Linked DNA regions of Homo sapiens: all the other regions are linked to region 3. Evidence: promoter capture Hi-C in 16 types of primary human blood cells and fetal thymus (Javierre and others, 2016). All regions are on one chromosome and are shown on one strand. The core of a region is centred on a gene start or on the middle of the fragment in contact, and the rest is flanking DNA. Distances in the headings are between cores, read along the strand shown. Region 1 has its middle 38 kb from the start of SLC60A2. Region 2 overlaps SLC16A10 (solute carrier family 16 member 10). Region 3 holds the start of CCN6 (cellular communication network factor 6). Region 4 overlaps SLC60A2 (solute carrier family 60 member 2).

Evidence for each region. The method cuts DNA at HindIII sites, captures the fragments that hold promoters and counts their contacts. A CHiCAGO score of 5 or more calls a contact.
Region 1: a fragment that was not itself captured here is called in contact with the fragment with the promoter of CCN6 in region 3 in 1 of 17 cell types (activated CD4 T cells); the score reaches 6.0 in activated CD4 T cells.
Region 2: a fragment that was not itself captured here is called in contact with the fragment with the promoter of CCN6 in region 3 in 3 of 17 cell types (total CD8 T cells, naive CD8 T cells and naive CD4 T cells); the score reaches 6.1 in total CD8 T cells.
Region 4: a fragment that was not itself captured here is called in contact with the fragment with the promoter of CCN6 in region 3 in 3 of 17 cell types (activated CD4 T cells, non-activated CD4 T cells and total CD4 T cells); the score reaches 5.9 in activated CD4 T cells.

What each region holds. Positions count from the first base shown.
Region 1 is chr6:111,296,258-111,298,957 of GRCh38, reverse strand. No RefSeq gene overlaps it. Among named protein-coding and RNA genes, the nearest start is that of SLC60A2, 38 kb to the right of the region's middle. The HindIII fragment of the contact is 400 bases long and covers 1,219-1,618 here.
Region 2 is chr6:111,228,005-111,230,704 of GRCh38, reverse strand. SLC16A10 (solute carrier family 16 member 10) reads right to left here. Exons shown (of 6, transcript NM_018593.5): 6 at 1-2,700. All of the region lies in intron 2 of SLC60A2-DT (SLC60A2 divergent transcript), which reads left to right. Among named protein-coding and RNA genes, the nearest start is that of SLC60A2-DT, 30 kb to the left of the region's middle. The HindIII fragment of the contact is 2,317 bases long and covers 210-2,526 here.
Region 3 is chr6:112,052,750-112,055,449 of GRCh38, reverse strand. CCN6 (cellular communication network factor 6) reads right to left here and starts at 1,346. Exons shown (of 5, transcript NM_198239.2): 1 at 1,045-1,346. The coding sequence starts at 1,092. The HindIII fragment of the contact is 6,629 bases long and covers 1-2,700 here.
Region 4 is chr6:111,276,107-111,278,806 of GRCh38, reverse strand. It overlaps SLC60A2 (solute carrier family 60 member 2), which reads right to left. Exons shown (of 4, transcript NM_153369.4): 4 at 1-2,700. Among named protein-coding and RNA genes, the nearest start is that of SLC60A2, 18 kb to the right of the region's middle. RefSeq lists an enhancer at 712-881. The HindIII fragment of the contact is 222 bases long and covers 1,226-1,447 here.

The DNA of each region.
Region 1 (2,700 bases), core at 169-2,668, 760 kb after region 3:
ATGAAGTAAATTATTTAACATATTTTTATATCCTGTTTGATATTGCAATTTCCTTACCAAAACTTCTTCAGGGTTAAAACAAAAAAAAAAATAAAAAAAGGGCAGCAAAAATGGGAAAATTTAATTTAGCACTCATCCTTTTAGAGAGTTTTAAGAGTGTACTTGTTTGTTAGTAGATCTTCAGTGTTCATTTTCATTTTGATATAATTATTAATTAAATTACAGAGAAAGCAAAAACTACATTACTTCTTAAAAACTTAAATGCCAATTTTTATATGCCTATTTTTTTCAATAGAAAAAAGTTAGTTATTATTTTAACAGAAATAACTCACCTGGTTATTTAACAGAAATAGGTCTTCCATTGCCAGAATATGTACTTGCAAATGTTGGGAGGATTCTTTTTCTGAAAATTACATGGTAAATATGGAACCAAAGAGATACATAGCCTGTGTCTGAACATAATTTATTTCAAGTCTTGTTAAGACATAATGAATTTCCACTTCTGGGGATTTTTTTTTGTTTGGGAGGCTGGGGCTAGTCCTCAGCATTGGGGTTTTTTCCCCCTTTTATATGTGTAGATTGATGAAATTCTGTTACTTACAAGTTCTGTGCTGTCAGGACTTCCACACACATCATCTCTTTCTCATCATAGTAACTTGACACAATATTTTCAACACAATAACCATTTTTAACCTGATTGATTGATTATAATTGGATACAGCCATATTAACAAATGGTTATTCAACATGAATGCCTAAAACTAGCTCACACTCAGCCTGTCTCTGGTTCTGTTTTCTGCAGGAAAGCTCCTCCTTTGTAACTGTCCTCAGAGTCTGTAGCTTAACTGCCTTTTAGTGAGGTCCATTTGCTGTTTCACTAACTCATCGGGGAGGGTGCTGAAATTTGGAACTATTTTACCAAGAAATTTTCTTGTAAGGATCTTCCTGTGTTCCATAATTTTCCCTCCTTTTTAGATGATTGGCTATTAATAAAGTTTTGTCTCTCAGATCACAGAAAAAAAAAATTTAAGTATGGCTGAAGAAACAGTTTCATTCTTTAGGATGTTTTCATTTACCTGAAAAGGAGCCAGAAGCTCAGAGACATCAAATAACTTCATTAAACATTTCCTTAATGTTTAATGAATTAAGTGAAACATTAATATTTGTTAAAGTTGTTTAACATTGTTTTCTCTCATTTTTCTCACTTTCTACTCAAGCTTTTCCCTAGATGAATCATGTAATAATCAATTCTATATGGACACAACATAGTGTCTTTGAGGAAGGACAATAAATTTGGAAAAAACATAAAAATGTGAAGAGCAGTTTTAAAGATATGAAGAATTCTTAGAGGAGGTGGCCCTCATCTTGCCAATGGAGCAGGCCACCCAGAGAGCTTGTGGACTCCGTTCAACCCCACTGACTGTCATGGGTTATACCCTCAGTCTCAGATGATGCACCCTACCTGCCATCAAGTGTGCCACCCTGATCACCTAAACATCTTTTCCGGATCTTACATTAGTTAAGTCTTGTAGCTGTGTAGTCGATCTTTTCATCTACTCTCTTTTATTTTCATAACAGTTGGAGTACAGGAATATTCCTTAAGGCCCATCAAATAAGCTTGTTTTGTCTTGAGGGGTCTTGCATTGTTGCCCAGGCTGGAGTGCAGTGGGGCGATCTTGGCTCACTGCAACCTCCACCCCGAGTTCAAGCAGTCCTCTCACTTCAGCCTCCCAAGTAGCTGGGGCTACAGGCATACACCACCACGCTTGGCTAATTTTTGTATTTTTGGTTGAGATGGGGTCTCGCCCTGTTGGCCAGGCTGGTCTCGAACTCCTGAACTCAACGATCTGGCTACCTCAGGCTCCCAAAGTACTGGGATTACAGGCTACTGGGAGCCACCACGCCCAGCCCAAATAAGCTTTTAAATTGACTTCTCTATTGTAGACTAGTATTTCTTAAAATAGTCACATTTAATTTTATAAAGTAAAAATAAATCTGGCTATAAATGACATTGTTAGGGCTCTGCCATCAGCTGTGGAGGTTGGGGGAGATGGCAATGCACAAGTAGCTACTTTTAGGCTGGATATGCCAGACCTCTATTAGTGAACTCTGTACCTCTGGGAGGATGGTTGGCATTCACACCCTACTGATTTTTAATCCCATAATACCATGTGCCCTTTTCCCATGATGTGATGAGAATTGTTACCTTTAACCATTTGAGGTTTTGTTTTGTTTCAGACAGGGTCTTGCTCTGTCACCGAGGCTGGAGTGCAGTGGCATGATCTCGGCTCACTGCAACCTCTGCCTCCTGCCTCAAGCGATTCTCCTGCCTCAGCAACCTGAGTAGCTGGGATTACAGGCATGCACCACCATGCCCGGCTAATTTTTGTATTTTCAGTAAAGATGGGGTTTCTCCATGTTGGCCAGGCTGGTCTTGAACTCCTGATGTCAGGTGACCCACCATCTTGGCCTCCCAAAGTGCTGGGATTACAGGCATGAGCCGCCATGCCCAGCCCATTTGAGTTGTATAATAGTGGATAAAATTCAGAAACATTAATGCCCCAGTTCTGCTTAATAACTAGCTTTGCACAGGCAAATAGTCACAGATTATGTCTATACTTGAAATCCAAGGAGGAAATCAAAACACATGCACCACCTAATCTACTTCTCTGTCTACTTTCCTCAACCTACCCAATAGCTG
Region 2 (2,700 bases), core at 119-2,618, 820 kb after region 3:
CAGTAATAACTACAGGGTTCAATTTGTTGTAGCTATAACTTTAAGGCTAAAATAAACTGGTGGAAGAACAAAAGCAAAATGCAACTTTTATCAAGCATTGTGCAATGCCTCTACAATCTTACACATCTCAAACCACATTAAGTTACATCAGAAGTTATTATTAGAGTGATGTTTAATCTCACCCTAATGTAACTTCTGATTAGCAAGCTTCCATTCTCTCTGCCAAATATAACTCATGTTAACGTAGAAAAGTGTTATCATTAGTTACCAGAGCAAATCCAGTGTACTGGATTGTGAATGCATAGTCTTTCTAATTAGGAAAATGAGAGTGTGTATTGTCTTCTTAATTTACATTTATAAAATCCTCATAAAATACAGTTAAGTCAGGGTCTTTTAAAAGAGAAGAATTCAACTGAAACCTGTCATTCTCTAGCCGGGCATGGTGGCTCATGCCTGTAATTCCAGCACTTGGGGAGGCTGAGGCAGGTGGATCACTTAAGGCCAGTCTGGCCAACATGGTGAAACTCCATCTCTACCAAAAATACAAAAATTAGCCGGTGTGGTAGTGGGCACCTGTAGTCCCAGCTACTCAGAAGACTGAGGCACGAGAATCACTTGAGCCCGGGAGGCGGAGGTTGCAGTGAGCTGAGATCGCGCCACTATATGGAGCCTGGCAATAGAGCAAGACTCCATCTCAAAAAAAAAAAAAAAAAAGAAACAAAGAAAGAAAAAGAAACCTGTCATTCTCAATTCATCTGAATCCTACCTACAGAACATTAAAGAGACCCGTATGTCTCGAACTCCTGGCCTCAAGCAATCCGCCTGCCTTGGCCTCCCAAAGTGCTGGGATTACAGGTGTGAGCCACGGCGCCTGGCCAAGGAGACCCATATGTTATTTTACTTAGGTGTTACACAATCAGACCAACGATGGTGCTGAGAGCCCTTGATAAATCATAGACCTGAGATTTGCTGACAGTGACCCAGCCGCAGTACTTATTGTTTATGTTAAATCTGAAAGACAAACAATGATACTTTCAGTGATAAATTTCAAATAATTATAAAAATATAACTGTGCAAATAACTCATTATCCATGTTTTAAGATTGATGACTCTCAAAACTCTGATTTTAGCCTGAAAGTTGCGAAATAGTTTCAAATGTCCAAATGTCTACATAAGCCAGCTCAATAGGAAGCTATTATATATAACTTTTTCACATTGCCTCAAAGTTACAGAATATATTTAAATCCCTCACTTTGTGCTAGAAACATTGACAAGGGACTTTTTCTTTAAAATTATTACCTTGGGAGGTTGTGTTCATTAGAACATTCTCATTTGGTGATCATTTTCTTGTGAGTTTCGTAATTTAAAGTCTTATATGTTAACAAAAATTGCATACCTCTAACTAGATACTGGAACTCAATAATCACTGTATAGGTGAGCTTTTTTCCTCAGTCATGTATATAACATGCAACATGCATAACGTTGCTGGCTGTATACATTTTCTATTGTGTTGTATATTAATATTTTTAAAAGAAAAATAATTTTGAAAGGAACATGAAGTATAGCACCAATCTTGATCTAATAATCTTTGGTAGAAAAAAAAGAGGCACCAACTATACAGTCTGTTCATAGTCCAGGGTCAAAATGCAGCACTATTTTTTTTTTTTTTTTTTTTGAGACAGAGTTTTGCTCTTGTTGCCCAGGCTGGAGTGCTATGGTGCAATCTTGGCTCACTGCAACCTCCACCTCCTGGGTTCAAGCAATTCTCCTGCCTCAGCCTCCCGAGTAGCTGGGATTACAGCATGGAGCCACCACGCCCGGCTAATTTTGTATTTTTGGTAGAGATGGGGTTTCTCCATGTTGGTCAGGCTGGTCTCCAACATCTGACCTCAGGTGATTCGCCTGTCTCGGCCTCCCAAAGTGCTGGGATTACAGGCATGAGTCACCGTGCCCGGCCCAGCACTATTAATAACAAACCCTCCATTCCTGAAATAACATTTCAATATAGACTGAATTATGAAAGATACTTTGACTCATTAGGGAAGATCACAGTAGAAAGGTTTTGTGTTTACACATTTAAAATATTTAACAAACTGACTCTTCTAATGACGGATACTGAAAAATATCTAGTAAAGAATAAAAGTCATACATCACAGGCTCCAAAATAGTATTACCAATCTAATTTGAGTTCTAAGTGTTATTTTATATTGGTAGTTCCTATCGCATACATGTTTAGGGACATTGAACTCCAAAATACTCTTTTTATAGCACTCATATTGAAAGGCAAAGCAACTTCTTTGGGTAGACTGGGTTAACTCCTACACTATTGCCACACTCAAGAACAGCATTTTAAAAAACTCCAGTGAGTCAAAAATTCATTGTCCCAGTCCTTGTTCTACTAGGAAGGAGTGTCTCTTACAGGAGTTTAATGTGTAAGTTGTCAGGTTTGGGCACAGCTGTACAATCTGTCATCACTGATCATCTACCCTCTTGCCAATGAAAACAAAACTTTTTCATAATCAAGCTTCCAGTGTAACTTGAAAAGCCACTGGCGAAGCATTCTAAGTGTTCATTAGAATCTGAGTGTGTCTAATTTAGAATCTAAGTGTATCTAGATTCTGAATTTCTTCAGGTTTTTCTTTGTCAGATCCACAGGCCATATTAGTTGTTATTCCTTTTTTGTTACTTTTACATCCGTTT
Region 3 (2,700 bases), core at 97-2,596:
TAACACCTTTCTGTGTTTGTTGTTGTTTATTTTGTACACATCTCTCTGTGTTGGAATACCTGCTGTCTAAGAACATCTAGCTGCTCTCAATCCACAATGACAGGCTTTTTCTCAAGAACAGTGGAATAGGAGGCACACAGACAGGGGAGTGAGCCCCTCCACAGAACAGCAGCAATGACCTGGACCACTGACATTCTTGTCATGATTCTTTTGAAATCGTAAATCTCTCTCTATATGGTATAACAATTTGCAATTCCTTGTTTTCTAAGATGTATCTACTACTTATGGCCCCAATCAACTACTAACTCACAGACACACCCATGTTTCCTAAATCACCAGATTTCAAAAGCTCTGTCTCCTGTCTACCGTGTAAATAAATCAACAATTAAGTCACCTTGTTTTCATCTTCTTATTTAAAAAGACTAAGGCAATGAATTGCTCATAGTAAGTTAAACTTCCCTTTGGTCTGTTGCTTGAAATATTTCCAAGCCTCCATGGACTGCTTCCCTTTCAGGAAGTGAGAAACACATGGACTGAGAAAAGACAAAGTAAGAGAATGTTTTAAAAATGTAAATGTTTATTCCAAAGTGCCCCTTTCAAAGAAGGACAGACTTAACTGGAAAAAGTCGCTGTCAAAATTCGTTTTTCCAGGGGCTCTTTGCACATTTTGCAAACAGCAATGGAAAGTTGAGCCTCCGCCTGGAGCTGGCATGGAGAGACACTGTTTCCCGCACTGTGCCAGGCTGTGCCTTAGGCTCTGCTATAAAAATATATAGGAAAGCGTGGCGCTGTTCAAACATAGCGAAAGGAGGCTTCGGTGCCATTACCTGAAAGGGAGAAATGTTTTACATTTCTTTCATGAAGCTCATGAACGAACACAGAACTTTATTTGGAAAGAAAAATGGCTTCCTATTTCTCATGAAGTAGTTCCACAAGCCATTGATCCTCCCTCTTCCTCCATCTTCGTTTTGTTTAGTTTTGGGCCTGAAGAACTAAGGATGGCCATAGCCTCCGGAAGGGAAAGAGTCGGGGGAGAGGACTTACCTGTGCCAGGCCAGCAAGCAGAAGAGTGGAGAAGAGGAGCCCCTGCATGTCGCTGGGACCGTGGAGCCACCCTGAGGGGTAGAGAAGTCGCCGCTTGTTCATTGCTCCGGGTACACAAAGCTCCCCTGTCTCCTCTGCAAACCCCACGCTCCTCTGCACAAGAACACACACCCTCTACCTCCCACACTACCAACTTTCAGCCTGCACTTTCATTTTTAAGGATCCGTTTTAATACCCTGTTTACTTTCATGGGACTCTTCTAATAACCTGCCTTCGCAGTGAGCGTGTCACAGGTCAGGAATGGGCGAGCACTTTCCTCCCGGGACTCAGGAGGGCAGGGCAAGTAGTGACTGTTCTCTAAGTGACTGTGTTACCTGTTCCTGGAGAGCAGAGCCTGCCCCCGACAACGGGTGGGGTCCCACGTCATTCCCTTCCTTGCCCTCAGCTTCTCCATCTGTGTTTGCCCTGCTCCGGGTCCTCTCTAGGCTGCTTCCTTCTCCAGCTTCACCCTCACGTACAGAGTGCAGGCCTGGCCCCCCCACCAACAGCACCCATCGCAGCCTAGCCCTGGCTTTCCCCCTCCATATTAATGGCAGGCTCTCGAAGGACCCTGACTCCCCCAGCTCAGATTCTCTCGGAGGCACCCACAGTGCCCTGGGCTCACCTTTATCCCAACACCTTTCTCATGCCAGGTGGACTGTGAGTGGAAAAAATACAGATGGAGCAGGGGGCGGACTCCTACAGTACCTGGCCTGAGAGACGCCTCTTTTTGTGGCCACAGTTCCATGACAGATGACAATGAAGTTAACCTCCATTTTTCCGGGCCTAAAATAAAACAATTACACTGGTAGCAATCATTCATTTAATGAATTAAGATTAAAAATAAGCCTGGCCAATATGATGAAATCCCGTCTCTGCTAAAAAAAAAAAAAGACACAAAAATTAGCCAGGTGTGGTGGCAGGCGCCTGTAATCCCAGCTGCTTGGGAGGCTGAGGCAGGAGAATCGCTTGAACCTGGGAGGCGGAGGTTGCAGTGAGCCGAGATCGCACCATTGCACTCCAGCCTGGGGGACAAGAGTGAGAATTATTCTCAAAAAAAAAAAAAAGATTAAAAATAAAATTTTGACAGGTTTGTACTCCTCTTCTTCATACTCACCTCCCTGAAAGGTGTGACCACCAGCGCATCTCCTCCTGTGTCATCATGTGGGACCTTCGCTTCTCCATGTTCTCAGCCTGGGTCTGTGTTCCCATCTTCATTTGCAGCTGCCGTGGTGCTTTGTCCCTCTCAGGTCCCTGAGGCGTCCCACCTGCCTGCCCCCATCCCAAGGCCTATTTCTATTTCCTTTGATCAGTTACCTATCCCTCCTTTTCCTGCTGCCTTACCTATCCTATACCGATTGCTCACCTTTGTTACTGTTCAAGGCAGTCACTACTGTATAAAGACAACATCAAGCCTCGCTTAGGCCTGAGCTGAGGGCCTGGGAAAAACGAGGCTGTCCTCCACCACAGAGAATCTGGTGTCCTTGGAGAACCATGGACACCCTAAAACCTGCAGATCACACAGAGCTTACTAAGGAGTCATTAAACTGTAAGTATATGCACATCAAACAACAAGGAATACCCACTGCAGTTAGGATGCCAACGCCTTATCTTGCC
Region 4 (2,700 bases), core at 87-2,586, 780 kb after region 3:
CTTCCTATATCATTCTATTAGTCTGTTTTCATGCTGTTGATAAAGACAGACCTGAGATTAGGTAATTTACAAAAGAGGTTTATTGGACTTACAGTTCCACATGGCTGGGGAGGCTTCACAATCATGGCGGAAGGCAAGGAGCAGCAAATCACATCTTATATAGATGGCAGCAGGCAAAATGAGGGCTTGTGCAGGAAAACTCCCTCTTATAATAACCAAAAGATCTCGTGAGACTTCCTCACTATCACAAGAACAGCACGGGAAAGACTTGCCCCCATGATTTAGTTACCTCCCACCAGGTCCCTCCAACAACACATGGGAATTCAAGATGAGATTTGGGTGGGGACACAGCCAAACTATATCAATCACCATCAGAAAAGAAAGACGTTGCACCCTGAGACAAAACAAAAATGATAGGGTCATCTAACTGTTGATGATCTAAAAAACAATAAAACCTTGAATGTTTCCCATAAACCTGGACTCCCTAAGAAATTTTATCCTTGGTTTTTCCTGTACTACATCTGAAGATTTGCCATAACCTTTATGAATACAATAATTACATGAGGCAGTTACTGTTTTTCACCGTGAACAGTCTAATGCAAACTCAGAAACCTTGGCAGTTTTTAATTTTTTCCTTCAAATACTTACGTTTTTTATTAGGCAAGCCAGTCATTCTCTTGCTCTCTTTGCAGGTAAACTTTTCCTTTTCTAAATGCTTCTGTCTCTGAGTATTTCTTCAACAAGGGTAAAGATTCATAGAGTGCTTGGACACAGAACTGGATACTCTGCTCCTGGGGGCAGAGTTCACTGCAAGTGATAAGGGAAAGAGCTGAGAAATGAGAACCTGCTCTGTCAGCCCAAGGGTCTTTGGAGCTGTAATCCAAGATCTAGTTTGACCATAAATATATTCTCTTGGCTGGACTGAATAAATCTCAAAAGTTGGTGTCAGATTCCTTTGTTGTAGGCTTCCTAAGCCTTCTTGCCTATATTCACCTCAACTACACTGTGCCGAGTAATTTCTACAAAATTCTAAATCAAAAATTACCCCAAAGACATAGACAAGTACTAGAAATGAACAAACAAAAACACACACCAAGGAACCAAGAGTTTAGCTACTTTCCTTTTCTAAAACTGGGTAAAACCTATTACAATAAGAGTTACTGGCTCTTCCGCTGATAGAAATTTTGTCATGGCAAATTTTACTTAAAATAGAAAAACATAAGCTTGGTGAAGGCAAGGATCTCATCTGCCTTCTCCTATTATATTCCCAGGGCCCTGGTTACTGAACATGGTAAATGCTCAGTAAATATCTGTTAGATAACTGAAATGCATGAATTTGGAAAACTTTCTGGTCCGCACAGATGAGAACTGTAATAATATCTCTTGCAAACTGGGACTCCTCTTAGAGCTCACTCAAGTAGAAATCTTACCCTCTTAGGAGAAAGCTTTCTTTCTTGGTAAAAATCAAACAATCCACAAACCTTGTCTAACACGCTCTTCCAAAAAAGTCTGCAATTTGGTGTGATTTTGTTTTTCCAGTTCTGATGCAGATGAACCAGGCCATCCATCCCAGGACCTGCCAATTTTCATCCCATTCAGGTATCGATTACCAATATTTATGAAGCCTAGCACTTCTCTGGTACAGAGCAGACAGTGGACATTCCCTTTTGATGATAACAGCTCCTGCATGCAGAGTGGTGGGAGTAGGAGGGTAGAAGTAGCCACTTTCTGGATGGGAGCAATGTCATCAACCCAAAGGGAACCCCTTCATAGGCTAACCAGCAACTCCTGAGGCAAGGCCCAATAAGGGCAATGGCATCTACTCAAGTCAAACAGGTTTCCTCCGGAATCTGGACCAGAGATACACAGAGGAACTCCTGAGGCAAGGCCCAATAAGGGCAATGGCATCTATTCAAGTCAAACAGGTTTCCTCTGGAATCTGGACCAGAGATATATAGAAGATGGGCCAGGAATGCAGAAAACGAGTGGTCCCAAGGAGGGGCAGAACTGCTGTGAGAGAGGCAGAGAGCAGCCCATTTATCGTTCTCAGACCACACACCTTCTGGTTCCAAGGTGGTTCAGAGGGATCTCTGTAAACGAATGAGCACAAAACACAGAACCATTCATTTGGCAGAAAACTGAGATCAAAGCTGTACCTGCTACTGCAAGGACAAAAAAGAAAGTTCATTAATACTTAGTCTACAGAGCCTCACATGCAGTAAGCCCTCAAGCACTTGTGCAATGACTGAACAAAAATTGCAAGCAGAGATAACAAAACTTTGAGGTAGTTGCCCAACATAACTTTTCTTTGAGTTCACTTATTCAGTACATGGGTGCTACTGATATGATCATAATGCGCCTAAAGTCTGAGATAATACCTTAAAAGTATGTGTTTATTCTCTTCCTAAAGCTACTCTCTTCTGGAAAAACTTGATTAAGAAAAAAATCTAAGACAAAAAACACAAACACAACAAAATATTAAAAATAGAATTACCATAAGATCCAGCAATTCCACTTATGGGTATATATCTCAAAAGAACTGAAAACAAGATCTCAAAGACACAGTTGTACACCCACATTCACAGCAGCGTATTAACAACAGCCAAAATGTAGAAGCAACACAAATGTCCACTGACAGATGAATAAACAAAATATAGTATGTATATACAATGGTGTATCATAGACTTAAAAAGGAAAGAA